Regions from separate parts of the Homo sapiens genome. Here regions 2 and 3 are each linked to region 1. Evidence: promoter capture Hi-C in human tissues and cell types (Jung and others, 2019). All regions are on one chromosome and are shown on one strand. Each heading gives the region's core, a stretch centred on a gene start or on the middle of the fragment in contact. The rest is flanking DNA. Distances are from core to core; before and after follow the strand shown.

Region 1 (4,693 bases), core at 1,343-3,842:
CCCAAGTTGCTTCTTGAATGCTTTGCTGCTTAGAAATTTCTTCTGCCAGATACCCTAAATCATCTCTCTTAGGTTCCAAGTTCCACAAATCTCTAGGGCAGGGACAAAACGCTGCCAGTCTCTTTACTAAAACATAACAAGAGTCACCCTTGCTCTAGTTCCCAAAAAGTTCCTCATCTCCATCTGAAACCACCCCCGCCTAGATTTCGTTGTCCATATCATTATCAGCATTTTGGTCAAAGTCATTCAACAGGCCTCTAGGGAGTTCCAAACTTGCTCACATTCTCCTGTCTTCTTCTGAGCCCTCCAAACTGTTCCAATCCCTACCTGTTACCCAGTTCCAAAGTCGCTTCCACATTTTTGGTTATCTTTTCAGCCGTGCCCCACTCTACTGGTACCAGTTTACTGTATTAGTCGATTTTCATGCTGCTGATAAAGACATACCTGAAACTGGACAATTTACAAAAGAAAGAGGTTTATTGGACTTACAATTCTACATCACTTGGGAGGCCTCACAATCATGATGGAAGGAGAAAGGCACATCTCACATGGCAGCAGACAAGAAAAGAGCTTGTGCAGGGAAACTCCTCTTTTTAAAACCATCAGATCTCATGAAATTTATTCATTATCATGACAATAGCACAGGAAAGAACTGCACCCATAATTCAGTCACCTCCTACCAGGTTCCTCCCACAACACGTGAGAATTCAAGATGAGATTTGGATGGGGACACAGCCAAACCATGTCACACTACCATGCCTGACTTCCTTTCCATTTTTGTATATTTGCTTGTTCTTCATTTGCCCGAGAAGTAACTCTAAAGGGCTGTATTATTTGGATATTAGATTGGCATTTTATCTGACTGGGATATCTTGCTGTGATTGTCCATGTATAAGATCAGCTTTTCTATAAGCCATATTTTTAAAAAGATATATTAATTTTTTAAAAATCCACCTGTCTAAATAAATGCACAAAGCCCCCCAAAAACCTAGATTCTAAGAAAAATCTATGTACTGCCATACAATGATTGATATTAATATTTATGGTGATAAATTACACACAAAAAATGTGTGATCTCTGTTTAAACAGGCAAAAACAAAAAACACATGAAATAAATCTATGGCATCTATAGCCAAAACTGGAAACAACCCACATATCCATCAATAGGAAATCAGTTAAATAAATTATAGTACATTTATCCAATGGAAGATTAAGCACATATTCAATATAATTATTTATACACACATATAGATACACACATGTATAAATATAGAGAATACTGTGGGTGTATGTGTGTGTGTGTTTATATACATATATATACACACACAGTACTGTTGCCTACCTTCTTTTGTCTTAATTCTGTGAACTCTCATTCACTCTGCTTCAGTAGGATACATCCTTCTTTTTGGTTCTTAGACTCACCAAGTTGATCCTTGACTCAAGACATTGCATTTGCTGCTTCCTCTTCCTGGAATATCCTTCCTTCTGATATTCACATGAGTAGTCTCTTCTTGTCATTCAGATCTCAAATGTCACAATTTCAGAGAGCCCATCTCTGATCATCATATCTAAAGTTGTCCTCATTCCCCCATAGCTTTCTATACCATGTTTTATTTTTTTCATAACATGTATTTTATTACTCCTTTCTCCATTGGAATAGAATCTCCATTAGATTAGGAAATCTGCCTATCTTATTAATGCCTGCAACTGGAATACTTTTGAAGAGTTCTTGGCACGTAATAAATACTCAACTAATATTTTTGTGTACACAGAAATAAAGTTTGGAAGAACAGATGCCAAATTGTTACTAGTGGTTACTTCTGAGTAAAGGAGTAGCATGGTAGGTAAATTATTAATAGATGTTCACTTTCCACCAAGATATGTTTTAGTTAGTCTTAACTTACTTGAAATGAAATTTATTACTTTAATAATTAGAAACATTGATAAACATTTTAGTCACAAGAATGATAGATAAAATTTTGATGCTTCCAATAAGTTATATTTATCTAGAGGATGCACTTATGTAGAATACTCTCTTGAGGATGTTAGGTGAGTAACATGTTACTATATGTAGTAAAATATCTATGATTTTATAAAAGCACTGAAACATGAAGCAGCAGAAATGTTTTTCCCAGTTCTCTTTCCTCTGAACTTGATCACCGTCTCTCTGGCAAAGCACCTAAATTAATTCTTCTTTAAAAGTTAACAAGACCAAATTATAAGCTTGATGAATAACTCATTCTTATCTTTCTTTAAATGATTATAGTTTATGTATTTATTAGCTATGCCCATCTTAAACAGGTTTATTTGTTCTTTTTACACATACCAAACTCTTAATATTAGCTGTTGTCCCCAGGTCCGAATGTTAAGTCAACATATATTTGAGAGACCTTCAACTTATCAAGTATTGCAGGTCTCTGATTGCTTTGGAACCACTTCTGATACCTGTGGACTTAGTTCAAGGCCAGTTACTACCACTTTTTTTTTTCTAATAGAATGAACAAATGGCTAATTGTTTGCTTTGTCAACCAAGCTCAAGTTAATGGATCTGGATACTATGTATATAAAAAGCCTAGCTTGAGTCTCTTTTCAGTGGCATCCTTCCCTTTCTAATCAGAGATTTTCTTCCTCAGAGATTTTGGCCTAGATTTGCAAAATGATGACCACATCTTTGATTTGGGGGATTGCTATAGCAGCATGCTGTTGTCTATGGCTTATTCTTGGAATTAGGAGAAGGTAAGTAATGTTTTATCTTTAAATTGCTCTTTGATTCATCCATTTAATTTTTTTACCTTCATTTTTATACAGTAAATTTGGTTTTCTATACTTACACATATTAGCATTATCTTCCTTATTTTTTAAATGAAAAATTTGATTTGAATTTTTAAAGTAATATCTTTTTTACTATATCTCACAAGACATATGACAGCTTCCCTTTTTAGTATTGGCATATACCGATGGTAATATATAAATGTATATTGGTGTTAAACATAACTGACAGAAATTGTATAAGGTCTCTATGTACATTTATATGTGTATCTAAAGAGGAAGCCCAGATTAGTAAGGATACAAGTAGCAAGTGGGAATCTACAATGGAAAGGATTGCTTTCTCTCACATGGCTTCAATAGATACTCTTGTTAAATAAATGTTCTCTTTTAAGCTCATTCTTGTGCATCGCATAGACTCAGCCTAAGCCTGAACAAGAGCATAGAGCCTGAGCTGATCATTCTATTACTGTTTTTAAATAAATGTTAATCAACTGTGGTGAATTGGGAAAGTTTGCTGAGTGTATGTGACATCGATTTCATTTATTTACAACTGGTTCAAGAATGCAAGAAAAACAAATACAGTCAGATCCAGAACCATAGTTTATTTAACTTCTAATTGGCTCAAGGAGTAATTGTGGGGAGGCATATAGATATTCTCTGCTATGTCAATCTCAAAAAGAGAAAATAACCCTAACCATCTTTCAGCTTTGTAGATTGCTATGTGTTTTCTGCCTTTTGCAGTTTCTTTCAGGCCTGATAGTTTTTACTTTTAATTAAACTACTTATCTTCAAACTAAGAAAAGAAAGGTAATTACTTTATACTGTATTATTCTATCAAGAGGTACAGAAGTTTATGTTGGAAAATAAGTTTACATGTTCTAATAAAAACATTTTAAAGGAGCACTGAATTACAATAGATGATTCCGTCAGTGTTTATCTTACTCAATTTCATTTTATAATAAGCTGATTTCTCACATGAGATTCTTCTTCTCTGAAACCATCCTTATAGAATATAATATAGATATCTTTAAACTAGGAATATTTTCAAAACCTCAGTTCTGAAATCCTCCCTTATTCAGTGATCTGTGTCTTTAAAGAAAATAATCAAAAGAAACATTTTGAGATATTTAGAAAAATGATGCTTAGCAAAGTGATAAACACTAGAATGTAGTTTTGTTTCCGCACTGACAACAAGAATCTTGTTGGTCTTGTAAATCCTTTTGCCTGTATCACTGGGAAAAGTGATGAGCACATAGTAGACGGGTGCTTGTTGAATGTGTATATGGACGGATGCATGAATGGATGGATTTAGTAATCCTTTCCACCAACATATCATGTTACTAGGTTAATATAACCTATTACTGTAGTAAAAGAGCAGGGCCCATCCAACAAAAGAAATATCTATAAACTATAGGGTTTCAAAGTTTGAAGTCAGTGGGAAAAATTTTAAAACCTGATGTAAGTAAAAACCCAAAACTGTAATCATCCATGTCTATCATACACTTGTGTCTGACAGGCAAACGGGTGAACCACCTCTAGAGAATGGATTAATTCCATACCTGGGCTGTGCTCTGCAATTTGGTGCCAATCCTCTTGAGTTCCTCAGAGCAAATCAAAGGAAACATGGTCATGTTTTTACCTGCAAACTAATGGGAAAATATGTCCATTTCATCACAAATCCCTTGTCATACCATAAGGTGTTGTGCCACGGAAAATATTTTGATTGGAAAAAATTTCACTTTGCTACTTCTGCGAAGGTAAGCAGTTTTACATTTATATACCATTCTGTTTGTCTTCTACCTTTTTATGTGCTTGTCTATTTAGAAATTTTGATGTACTTAGATTTTATGATAAAGGTGTTGAAGAGAGTTATCCTTATGTGGAGATTCTTAGAAACATAAATAAATTATACGTAGCTTCTTAG
Region 2 (4,693 bases), core at 1,507-4,006, 200 kb before region 1:
GAAGAAGCAAAAAAATGGTAACAAACTCCCTCTTAGTCTGCTGTGGTTGCCGTAAAAAGTATCACATACTGAGTGACTTAAACAACAGAAATTTATGTTCTCATAGCTCTGGAGGCTGGAAGTCCAAAATCATGGTGTTGGCAGGGTTGGTTCCTTCTGAGACCTCTCACCTTGCCTGTAGGTGACCATCTTCTCCTTGTGTCTCCACATGGTCTTCCCTCTTGTTCATATTTGTCTAAGTCTCAATGTCCTCTTCTTGCAAGGACACCAGTTACGTTGGATTAGGGCTGACCCATGTGACTTCATTTTATCTTAATCATCTCTGTAAAGACCCTATCTCTAAATACAGTCTCATTCTGAGGCATAGGGGGTTGGGGTTTGAACATATGAATTTTGGGGGGGCTGGGGGCTGACACAATTCAGTCCAAAGCACTCCCTTCTTTCCTTCCTTCCCAGGGTTGTTCAGATGTCTTCAAATCCACCACGCAATGAAGTGGCTATGAGGCAGCGGAGAGGGCCTGAGTGTTGTGACCTTTGCCTAGCAGTGTGACCTGGGGATGTTCTTTAGCCTCTTAGCCTTGGTTTTCCCATTTGTAAAATAAAGCTAGAAATACCTTCCTCACCAGGGAGTGGTGAGATCAAAGGAGTGATCAACAGGAATAAAGGAGGTGATAAAAGGGAACAAACAGGCACAGTATTCCTCAGGTATGGACTGAAGCCCCGCTAAGGCTCCTACCGCCCTGGAGAAATGAATCAGAATCCTTCACACAGCCAACAAGACCCTGTGTGACCTCATGCCCATCTAGCCCTGGCGGAGCTCCTCTGAGGTGAGAGGGGCCTGAGCCACATAGAATTTCTGATACCTCTGATAGGAAACAACAACAAAGAGATAAACATAAAAATGCCAAAACAGAGAATCAAAAAATGTTATATATTTTAAAATATTTATTTAATAAATTAATGCTTTAAAAATTAAACAGGCAATGACTGTATATACAACCTCAACTGGAGATCAGTCAAGAGTTTAAGTAAGTCTGGGTGCAGTGGCTGACATCTGTAATCCCAGCACTTTAGGAGACCAAAGTAGGAGGATCACTTCAGGCCAGGAGTTGTAGACCAGCCTGGGCAACATAGCAAGACCCTGTTTCTACCAAAACTTAAAAATTAGTCAGGCATGATGGTGCGTGCCTGTAGTCCCAGCTACACAGGAAGCCGAGGCAGGAAGATCACTCAAACCCAGGAGGTCGAGGTTGCAGCTAGCCGTGATCATGCCACTGTGCTCCAGCCTGGGTGACAGAGCAAGACAGTGTCTCTAAAAAAATAAATAAATAAAAATAAATGTTAAAAGATCTAAATTTGAGGCTCTGGCAAACATGAGGCCAGGGCCCTCCGCCATACCTCTAAGCGCCTTCCAGTGAGTCTGCACTCCGGAGGCCCCAGACTCTCCACTTCATTTTACCAGGCTCCTTCCTGCCTCAGGCTCTTCCTTCATCATGCTTGACAATTAGTTAATCTTTCAGGTCTCAATTGCAACTGCATTTCCTTAGAGAATAATTTCTTCACCAATCAAATCATTTCATTTCCCCAGTGAAGGAGCATCTGAGTGTTTCACACATGCACTATCTCAGTCACATTACATAATCTCGTGGTGCTCTGGACTTCGTCTTCATAGCAGTGACAACAAGTGTAATTAAATAATTCACTATGTAACTTGTGTTTCTCTCTGCCTCTTCTCTAGAATGTAGGCTGTCTGTCAATAAAAAGCAAGTCTATCTTTCTCAACTCTGTACCTAAGTCTGACAAGGACTCAGCGTGTACTCAATAACTATACAATGAATGAGTTTAAAGTGAATATCACTATTCAAAACTCCTTCCTCCGTATATAGACTTCTTGTGCCCTTTTCTGTAAATGTCAAGGTATATCTACTTCCATTTACTAAAAATTTATCCCTGCAAAACCCTGAAGTTTGAAATATTCATATTATATGTATTTGTCCACATATATCATTTACTGTAAAAACAGGTTGTTATGATAAATGGGGTAAGGGATGAAATATACCACCAATACAGTTGGTGTGACTTTTTAGTCACTAATGATAAAGCTTTCTGAAAATGATATCGTTCAGTCAAAGTCATCTTCTAGCATCTGTCGAATGATGTGCAAACAAAAAATCATTTTCCAGACACTGTGCTCTTTCAGTGGTTTCATTTTTATAGTGATAAACTTGACCAACAGGCACATATATCTTATTTGGCCATTTTTCATGAAAAATCCATTTATGAATGTAGCAGGATGAGCCACAGACAAAACTCCTCAGACACCGAGTTAAAGAAGGAAGGGGTTTATTCGGCCAGGAGCATCGGCAAGACTCCTGTCTCAAGAGCCGAGCTCCCCAAGTGAGCAATTCCTGTCCCTTTAAAGGGCTAACAACTCTAAGGGGGTGCACGTCAGAGGGTCGTGATCGACTGAGCAAGCAGGGGGTATGTGACTGGGGGCTGCATGCACCGGTAATTAGATCAAAACAAAACAGGATAGGGATTTTCACAGTGCTTTTCTATACAATGTCTGTAATCTATAGATAACATAACCAATTAGGTCAGGGTCGATCTTTAACTACCAGGCCCAGGGTATGGTGCCCGGCTGTCTGCTTGTGGATTTCATTTCTGCCTTTTAGTTTTTTACTTTTTCTTTTTTTGGAGGCAGAAATTAGGCATAAGACAATATGAGGGGTGGTCTCCTCCCTTATTCCCCCCCTTTGAGACTCTCACTCAATAGTGCGAGTTCTCACTTTCATTCTTACTACCCATGTCTTCTTGCAAGACAGATTGATAGTGATTCATATAGTACACTTGTGCTGAAGCATTTTGGTGAACTAAGGTAGTGATGAAGCTTTTTATCATTTGAAGAAGTACAGGTAGCAAACAAGGGAGAAGTAAGCGGTTCCTATTACTATTATAACTGTTATTATAAGAGTTTTAAATTCTCCTAGTGCTGGGAACCATTTTCTAAACATGGCTCCAGGATCAAATCCATGCCACACTTGCACAGGCACATGTGCCACTTTTGTCATATCTCTAACTATGTCCTCAACTACTTGCCCTTGATTATCTATATGTAGGCAGCAATTAGTAAGGTTAAATTTCCTACAGGCCTCTCCTTCAGCTGCTAGCAAGTAGTCTAGAGCTAATCTATTTTGATAGATAGCATTTCTCATCTGAATTTCTTGCCAGGCCAGAATAGTCAAGGCTCTGCAGGTTTTATTAGTGATTATTTTTAAGACAGCTTGTAACCGTATGATTTGGTTGATCATGTAAATGGGGGTCTGGTATCCCCATGAGCCATCTTGTGCCTAAGTAGCAGGTCCATAATATTGTGTGATTTTCTCAGGGGGCCATTTATCATTTTTTAAAATTTCCTATAGCTATGCTTCTCTTTTCGCAGGAAGCATAGACAGGGGAGCCCAGGAGTTCGCCTGTTTTTATGGGCAGTAGGAAGAAAGATGGTTTAATAGTGCCAATAACAAAACTGCCTGCCTATCGGTCAGGTAATTTGGCGTAAGCTCTATGCCTATATATCCAGTACAATCCAGTGGGGGCTGTCCAGTCCCGGTGGGACTCCGGGTGGGTCCACACAGTTTGCAACTTTGGGAATCGACTGAATGGATTTCTCTGTGTGTGATTTGAACTCCACCAAGTGACTGCTTTTGTGGTACCATTATACACTTTCTGTCCCAGACAACTAAGTCTTCCTACGGGGTGCACGAATTATTTTCCTTCTCTAGCTATGCAGTATTGTCCAATAATTGAGGCTTTTAGGACCCAGAAATTATCAGGGTGATTCTTTTGAGCTGGGAATTCATCAGGAACTGGGTCTGTAGGTACTAACTCTCAGGCTTCTCATGGCCATTGATCTCCTATTACAGTTCCTCCACGTACATAACATGAAGTGACATTGAGAGACTGGGCTACATGCTCAGCTAATTGCAAAAACGAATTTCTTGTTTTTCCTAGAATTTCTGGTACTGGCACATTTAGTTCATCATAGGAAGTTTGAAATACTGGCTCAGGAGAGCGTTTGTAAACTTCTCCTCAAACTAAGATATTTACTCAAGGATCCAGTCCAGCCCCGTTGATTCCTAAGGTCACAAGCTCCTCTTTTTTCCAGCGAGGGTCAAGGGTATTGGTTATTACTAGCTGTAAGGGGTTACATTGTTCCTTAGTAAAGGAAGGGCCATTTTTTTCCTTTCTGAAGGTGGGCTGGATCCTTTTCATTTTTTTTTAATCCAAGTGGCCTAATGACACAAGACCAGTACTTACATTTATTTCCACACACTCCTAATTTATGACAGATGTACTTATTTTCTGCCATATAGCCTCTTTTCTAATTAAGAGAACCACACCTTATTCCTAACTTATTAGTATTAATGACAGCACAGGCATCAAATTTTAACTTGACTTGTTTGGGCACCCCTTTTTCTTCTGTTTTGGTTAACACTTTACTCGTATCGTTTATGAGCCCCCACCAGTCCTCAGTCCTTAATCTTATTTTAAAACTGTGGTCATGGGAGGCTCAGATGGATCATAACACACATCAGGTTGGTCATTTCCTGGGCTACATACCTTGTATAGAATAACATTATACAAACAAGTTATTTTTAGAGTTCCAGTACACTTATAATAACCATAAAATAAT
Region 3 (4,693 bases), core at 1,232-3,731, 160 kb after region 1:
ATATATCTTAGATTACATATTTATGAATTTCCCATAAAAAAGTAAGTCTATGTAGAGAAAGTAGATCCATAGTTACATGGGAGAGAGGATAGGAATGGAACTGACTGCAAATGGAAGGGAGGGAAGTTTTGGGGGGTGATAGAAGTGCTTGAAAGCTAGATTGTGGTGATAATTGCACAAACTTCCAAATTTACTAAAAATTACTGACTTCTACACTTACAATAGATGAGTTTTGTAGTATGTAAATTTTTCCCAATGAAGCTATTGAAAGAATAAATTGTGTGTAAAATGTCATACTAATCCTTTTTTTTTCTAAATTTTTGTTTTTACAGCACCAGTTTAACAAGTAATCACCAACTTTCCACCTTGCTTTTAGGAAAGCCATATTTTGAGAATAAGAGGAAGAAGAAACACCGAAGTTATTTAGTCCTAGACTCTTCTTACATGTCTCCAAGAATAAGTAGACACTGACTATTTTAAGAATTCTCTTGAGTAATAGAAGTTAGTGAACTGGAAGAATGGAGCCAGACAGATACCAAAAGATCATTATTTTTCCCTAAAGTGAACTTTAAAAGCTGGCATTTTTTCTGCAGCCAAGCATTTCCTAAAAGTGCTCTCAGTCAACTGTGCTGAACTATTGAGTAATTGCCATGTCACTGTACCTCCCCAACTTGTGATGTGTGTAATAATATAATGCAAGTGATTATTTTTGCCTTGAGAGCTTTAACTCTCATGATGAGCAAATGATATTCTTAGACTTGAATCACAACTATTTACAAATTAATTACATATCTATTCTCTTGCTTGAAGAGCTATCATTTGACTCAAGAAAATGTGTGACCATTTTTTACCTGTATTAATTCAGAGCACAGTTGTGTGATCATTAGTTTGAGTCCCTAAGACAGAATAATCAAAGTTTAGTCAGTAGCAAGAAATTAACATGCAATTCTTGTCTTCTTCAAGCATAGTCTATATTCTGTTGGTAATAAACTGTATCCTGTTGGCAATAAATTAATTGCTCAACAGCGTGAATGCAGTAGATTATTTTCTTTTTATATCCATGAAATTTCTGTCTCTAAGATTGATCAGTGTACATTTCCACACAGAGCCACGAGTGCTTATATAATAATTGTCTGTGCCCAATCACTTAAGAGTGACTTTGCTGATGACCTTGTCAGAGGCATTCTGTTTGGCAAGCAGAGTTGATCGACTCTTGGCCAGCGTGCAAGCGACAGAAAACACTTCTGTCATACTGAATTCATTTTTTTTTGACAAACAGAGCTCACATTAGAGAGCCAGTTGGCAAAACTGATATTCTGTAATACAGCAAATTATAATTCTGTGTCTCTGGCTCATTTCTTCCCAAGGGGTTTTGGGTGGCCACTTGTGGCTAAGTTTAGCAGAAGGAGTCTTATTAGAATGACATAAGGTAATTCCATAGTTGAATTTTTAGCCTGATTTCAATGTCCAAGTGACAGTCTTTTCCCTTTTTGCTGAAACCTAACTGATTATATTTACAATCTGTTTATTTGGCAGGTCATATTCATAGGAACCCTTTCCAAAGAAGGAAGGGGAATATGAAGAAAGTTAGGAATGAAGACAAATCTATAAACTGCAAAGGCTCTGATGTCAGTAATTGTGCTGTCAAAACTGCTCAGGCTCTGATGAGTCAGGTGATCACAGTCAAGTCAATTAATCTCTCCGAGGCTCATCTGTAAGTTGGGGATGGGTTTCTTTTCTTTTTTTTCTTTTAAGACTTTCTCTTTTTAAATTAATTAATTATTTAAAGTTTTGGGGTATATGTGCAGGATGTGCAGGTTTGTCACATAGGTAAACGTGTGCCATGGTGGTTTGCTGCACATATCAACCCATCGCCTAGTTTTGTTCTTTTTGCTTAGGATTGTCTTGGCTATGTGAGCTCTTTTTTGGTTCCATATGAATTTTAAAATATTTTTTTCTAATTCTGTGAAGAATGTCAGTGGTAGTTTAATGGGAAGAGCATTGAATCTATAAATTGCTTTGGGCAGTATAGTTATTTTCACTATACTGATTCTTTCTATCCATGAGCAGATGGAATGTTTTTCCATTTGTTTGTGTTCTCTCTGATTTCCTTGAGCAGTGGTTTGTAGTTCTCTTTGAAGAGGTCCTTCACTTTCCTTGTTAGCTCTATTCCTAGGTATTTTATTCTCTTTGTGGCAATTGTGAATGGGAGTTCATTCATGATTTGGATTTCTGCTTGCCTGTTGTTGGTGTATAGGAATGCTTGTGACTTTCGCACATTGACTTTGTATCCTGAGACTTTGCTAAATTTGCTTATCAGCTTTAGAAGCTTTTGGGCTGAGACAATGTGGTTTTCTAGATACAGAATCATGTCATCTGCAAACAAAGACAATTTGACTTCCTCTCTTCCCATTCGAATATCCTATATTTCTTTCTCTTGCCTAATTGCCCTGGCCAGAACTTTCAACACTATGTTGAATAAGAGTGGTGAGAGAGAGCATCCTGGTCTTGTGCCAGTTTTCAAGGGAATGCCTGCAGCTTTTGCCCATTCAGTATGATATTGGCTGTGGATCTGTCATAAATGGCTCTTATTATTTTGAGGTATGTTCCTTCAATGCCTAGTTTATTAAGAGTTTTTAACATGCAGGGATGTTGCATTTTATCAAAGGTCTTTTCTGCATCTATTGAGATAATTATGTGGTTTTTGTCTCTAGTTCTGTTTATTTGATGAATTATGTTTATTGATTTGCATCTGTTGAACCTGCCTTGCATCCCAGGGATGAAGCCGACCTGATCATGGTGAATAAGCTTTTTGATGTGCTGCTGGACTCCATTTGCTAGTATTTTATTGAGGATTTTTCCATCTATGTTCATTATGAATATTGGCCCAAAGTTTTCTTTTTTGGTTGTAACTCTGGCAGGTTTTGGTATCAGGATGACGCTGACCTCATATAATGAGTTAGGGAGGAGTCTCTCCTTTTTAATTGTTTGGAATAGTTTCAGAAGAAATGGTACCAACTTTGCTTTGTATCTCTGTTAGAATTCAGCTATAAATCCCTCTGGACCTGAAATTACTGCCTCAATTTCAGAATTTGTTATTGTTCTATTCAGGGATTCAGCTTCTTTCTGGTTCAGTCTTGGAAGGGTGTATGTGTCCAGGAATTTATCTATTTCTTCTAGATTTTCCAGTTTATTTGCATAGAGTTGTATATAGTATTCTCTGAGGGTTGTTTGTATTTCTTTGGGTCAGTGGTGTTATCCCCCTTACCATTTCTGATTGTGTTTATTTGAATCTTCTCTCTTGCCTTCTTTATTAGTCTTGCTAGCAGTCTATTTTCCCTATTGATTTAAAAAAAGTTTGTGGATTTGTTGATTTTTTGAAGTTTTTTTTGTTTCTATGTCCTTCATTTCCTCTCTGAAATTATTTCCTGTCTTCTCCTAGCTCTGGGGTTTGTTTGCTCTTGGTTCTCTAGTTCTTTTAGTTGTGATATTAGGGTGTCTATTTGAGATTTTTCTAGCTTTTTGATGTGGGCATTTAGTGTAATAAATTTCCCTCTTAACACAGTTTCAGCTGCATCCTAGAGATTCTGATACATTGTCTCTTTGTTCTCATTGGTTTCAAAGAACTTCTCGATTTCTGCCTTAATTTCATTATTTACCCAGGGGTCATTCAGGAGCAGTTTGTTCAATTTCATGTAGCTGTGTGGTTTTGAGTGGGCTTTTAAATCTTGAGTTCTAATTTGATTGTGTTGTGGTCTGAGAGACCACAACTGGAATCTTATGATTCCAGTTTTTTAATTTTTGCATCTGCTGAAGAGTGTTTTACTTCCAATTATGTGATCAATTTTAGGGTAAGTGCCATGTGGCACCAAAAAAATCTGTTGTTTTAGGTGGAGAGTTCTGTAGATATCTATCAGGTCCACTTGGTCTGAGCTCAAGTCCTGAATATCTTTGTTAATTTTCTGTCTCAATGATCTGTCTAATGCTGACTGTGAGGGTATTAAAGTCTCTCACTATTATTGTGTGGGGGTCTAAGTCTCTTTGTAGTTCTCTAAGAACTTATTTTATGAATCTGGGTGTTCCTGTATTGGGTGCATATGTATTTAGTATAGTTAGCTCTTCTTGGGGAATTGAACACTTTAATATTATGTAATGCCCTTTGTCTTTTTTGACCTTTGTTGAGATGTGTCTCTTGAATACAGCACACTGATGGGTCTTGTCTTTGTATCCAGCTTGCCATTCTGTGTCTTTTAATTAGGACATTTAGCCCATTTACCTTTAAGTTTAATATTGTTATGTATGAATTTGATCCTGTCATCATGATGCTGGCTGTTTAATTTTGCAGACTTGTTAACGTATTTGCTTCATAGTGTCACTGGTCTCTGTACTTCAGTGTGTTTTTGTAGTTTCATAGATAGAATAGGTTTTTCCTATCCAGGTTTTAGTGCTTCCTTCAGGAGTTCTTGCAAGACAGGGCTGATGGTGACAAAATCCCTCAGCATTTGCTTGTCTGAAAAGGATTTTATTTCTCCTCCACTTATGAAGCTTAGTTTGGCCAGATATGAAATTCTGGGTTGGAATTTCTTTTTCTTAAGAATGTCGAATATTGGCCCCCAATCTCTTCTGGCTTGTAGGGTTTCCACTGAGAGGTCCACTGTTAGTCTGATGGGCTTCCCTTTGTAGGTGACCTGTC

Evidence for each region. The method cuts DNA at HindIII sites, captures the fragments that hold promoters and counts their contacts. A contact is called where the count stands out against the background at its distance.
Region 2: a contact is called between a fragment that was not itself captured here and the fragment with the promoter of CYP7A1 in region 1, in 1 of the 25 tissues and cell types used here (hippocampus).
Region 3: a fragment that was not itself captured here is called in contact with the fragment with the promoter of CYP7A1 in region 1 in 2 of the 25 tissues and cell types used here (aorta and ovary).

What each region holds. Positions count from the first base shown.
Region 1 is chr8:58,498,062-58,502,754 of GRCh38, reverse strand. It overlaps CYP7A1 (cytochrome P450 family 7 subfamily A member 1), which reads left to right and starts at 2,592. Exons shown (of 6, transcript NM_000780.4): 1 at 2,592-2,736; 2 at 4,286-4,526. The coding sequence starts at 2,657. RefSeq lists an enhancer at 2,161-2,382, a promoter at 714-2,616 and a silencer at 2,714-4,300. The HindIII fragment of the contact is 11,138 bases long and covers 1-4,693 here.
Region 2 is chr8:58,696,464-58,701,156 of GRCh38, reverse strand. No RefSeq gene overlaps it. Among named protein-coding and RNA genes, the nearest start is that of NSMAF, 39 kb to the right of the region's middle. RefSeq lists an enhancer at 370-941. The HindIII fragment of the contact is 5,195 bases long and covers 159-4,693 here.
Region 3 is chr8:58,333,478-58,338,170 of GRCh38, reverse strand. No RefSeq gene overlaps it. Among named protein-coding and RNA genes, the nearest start is that of LINC03133, 64 kb to the right of the region's middle. The HindIII fragment of the contact is 5,242 bases long and covers 1-4,693 here.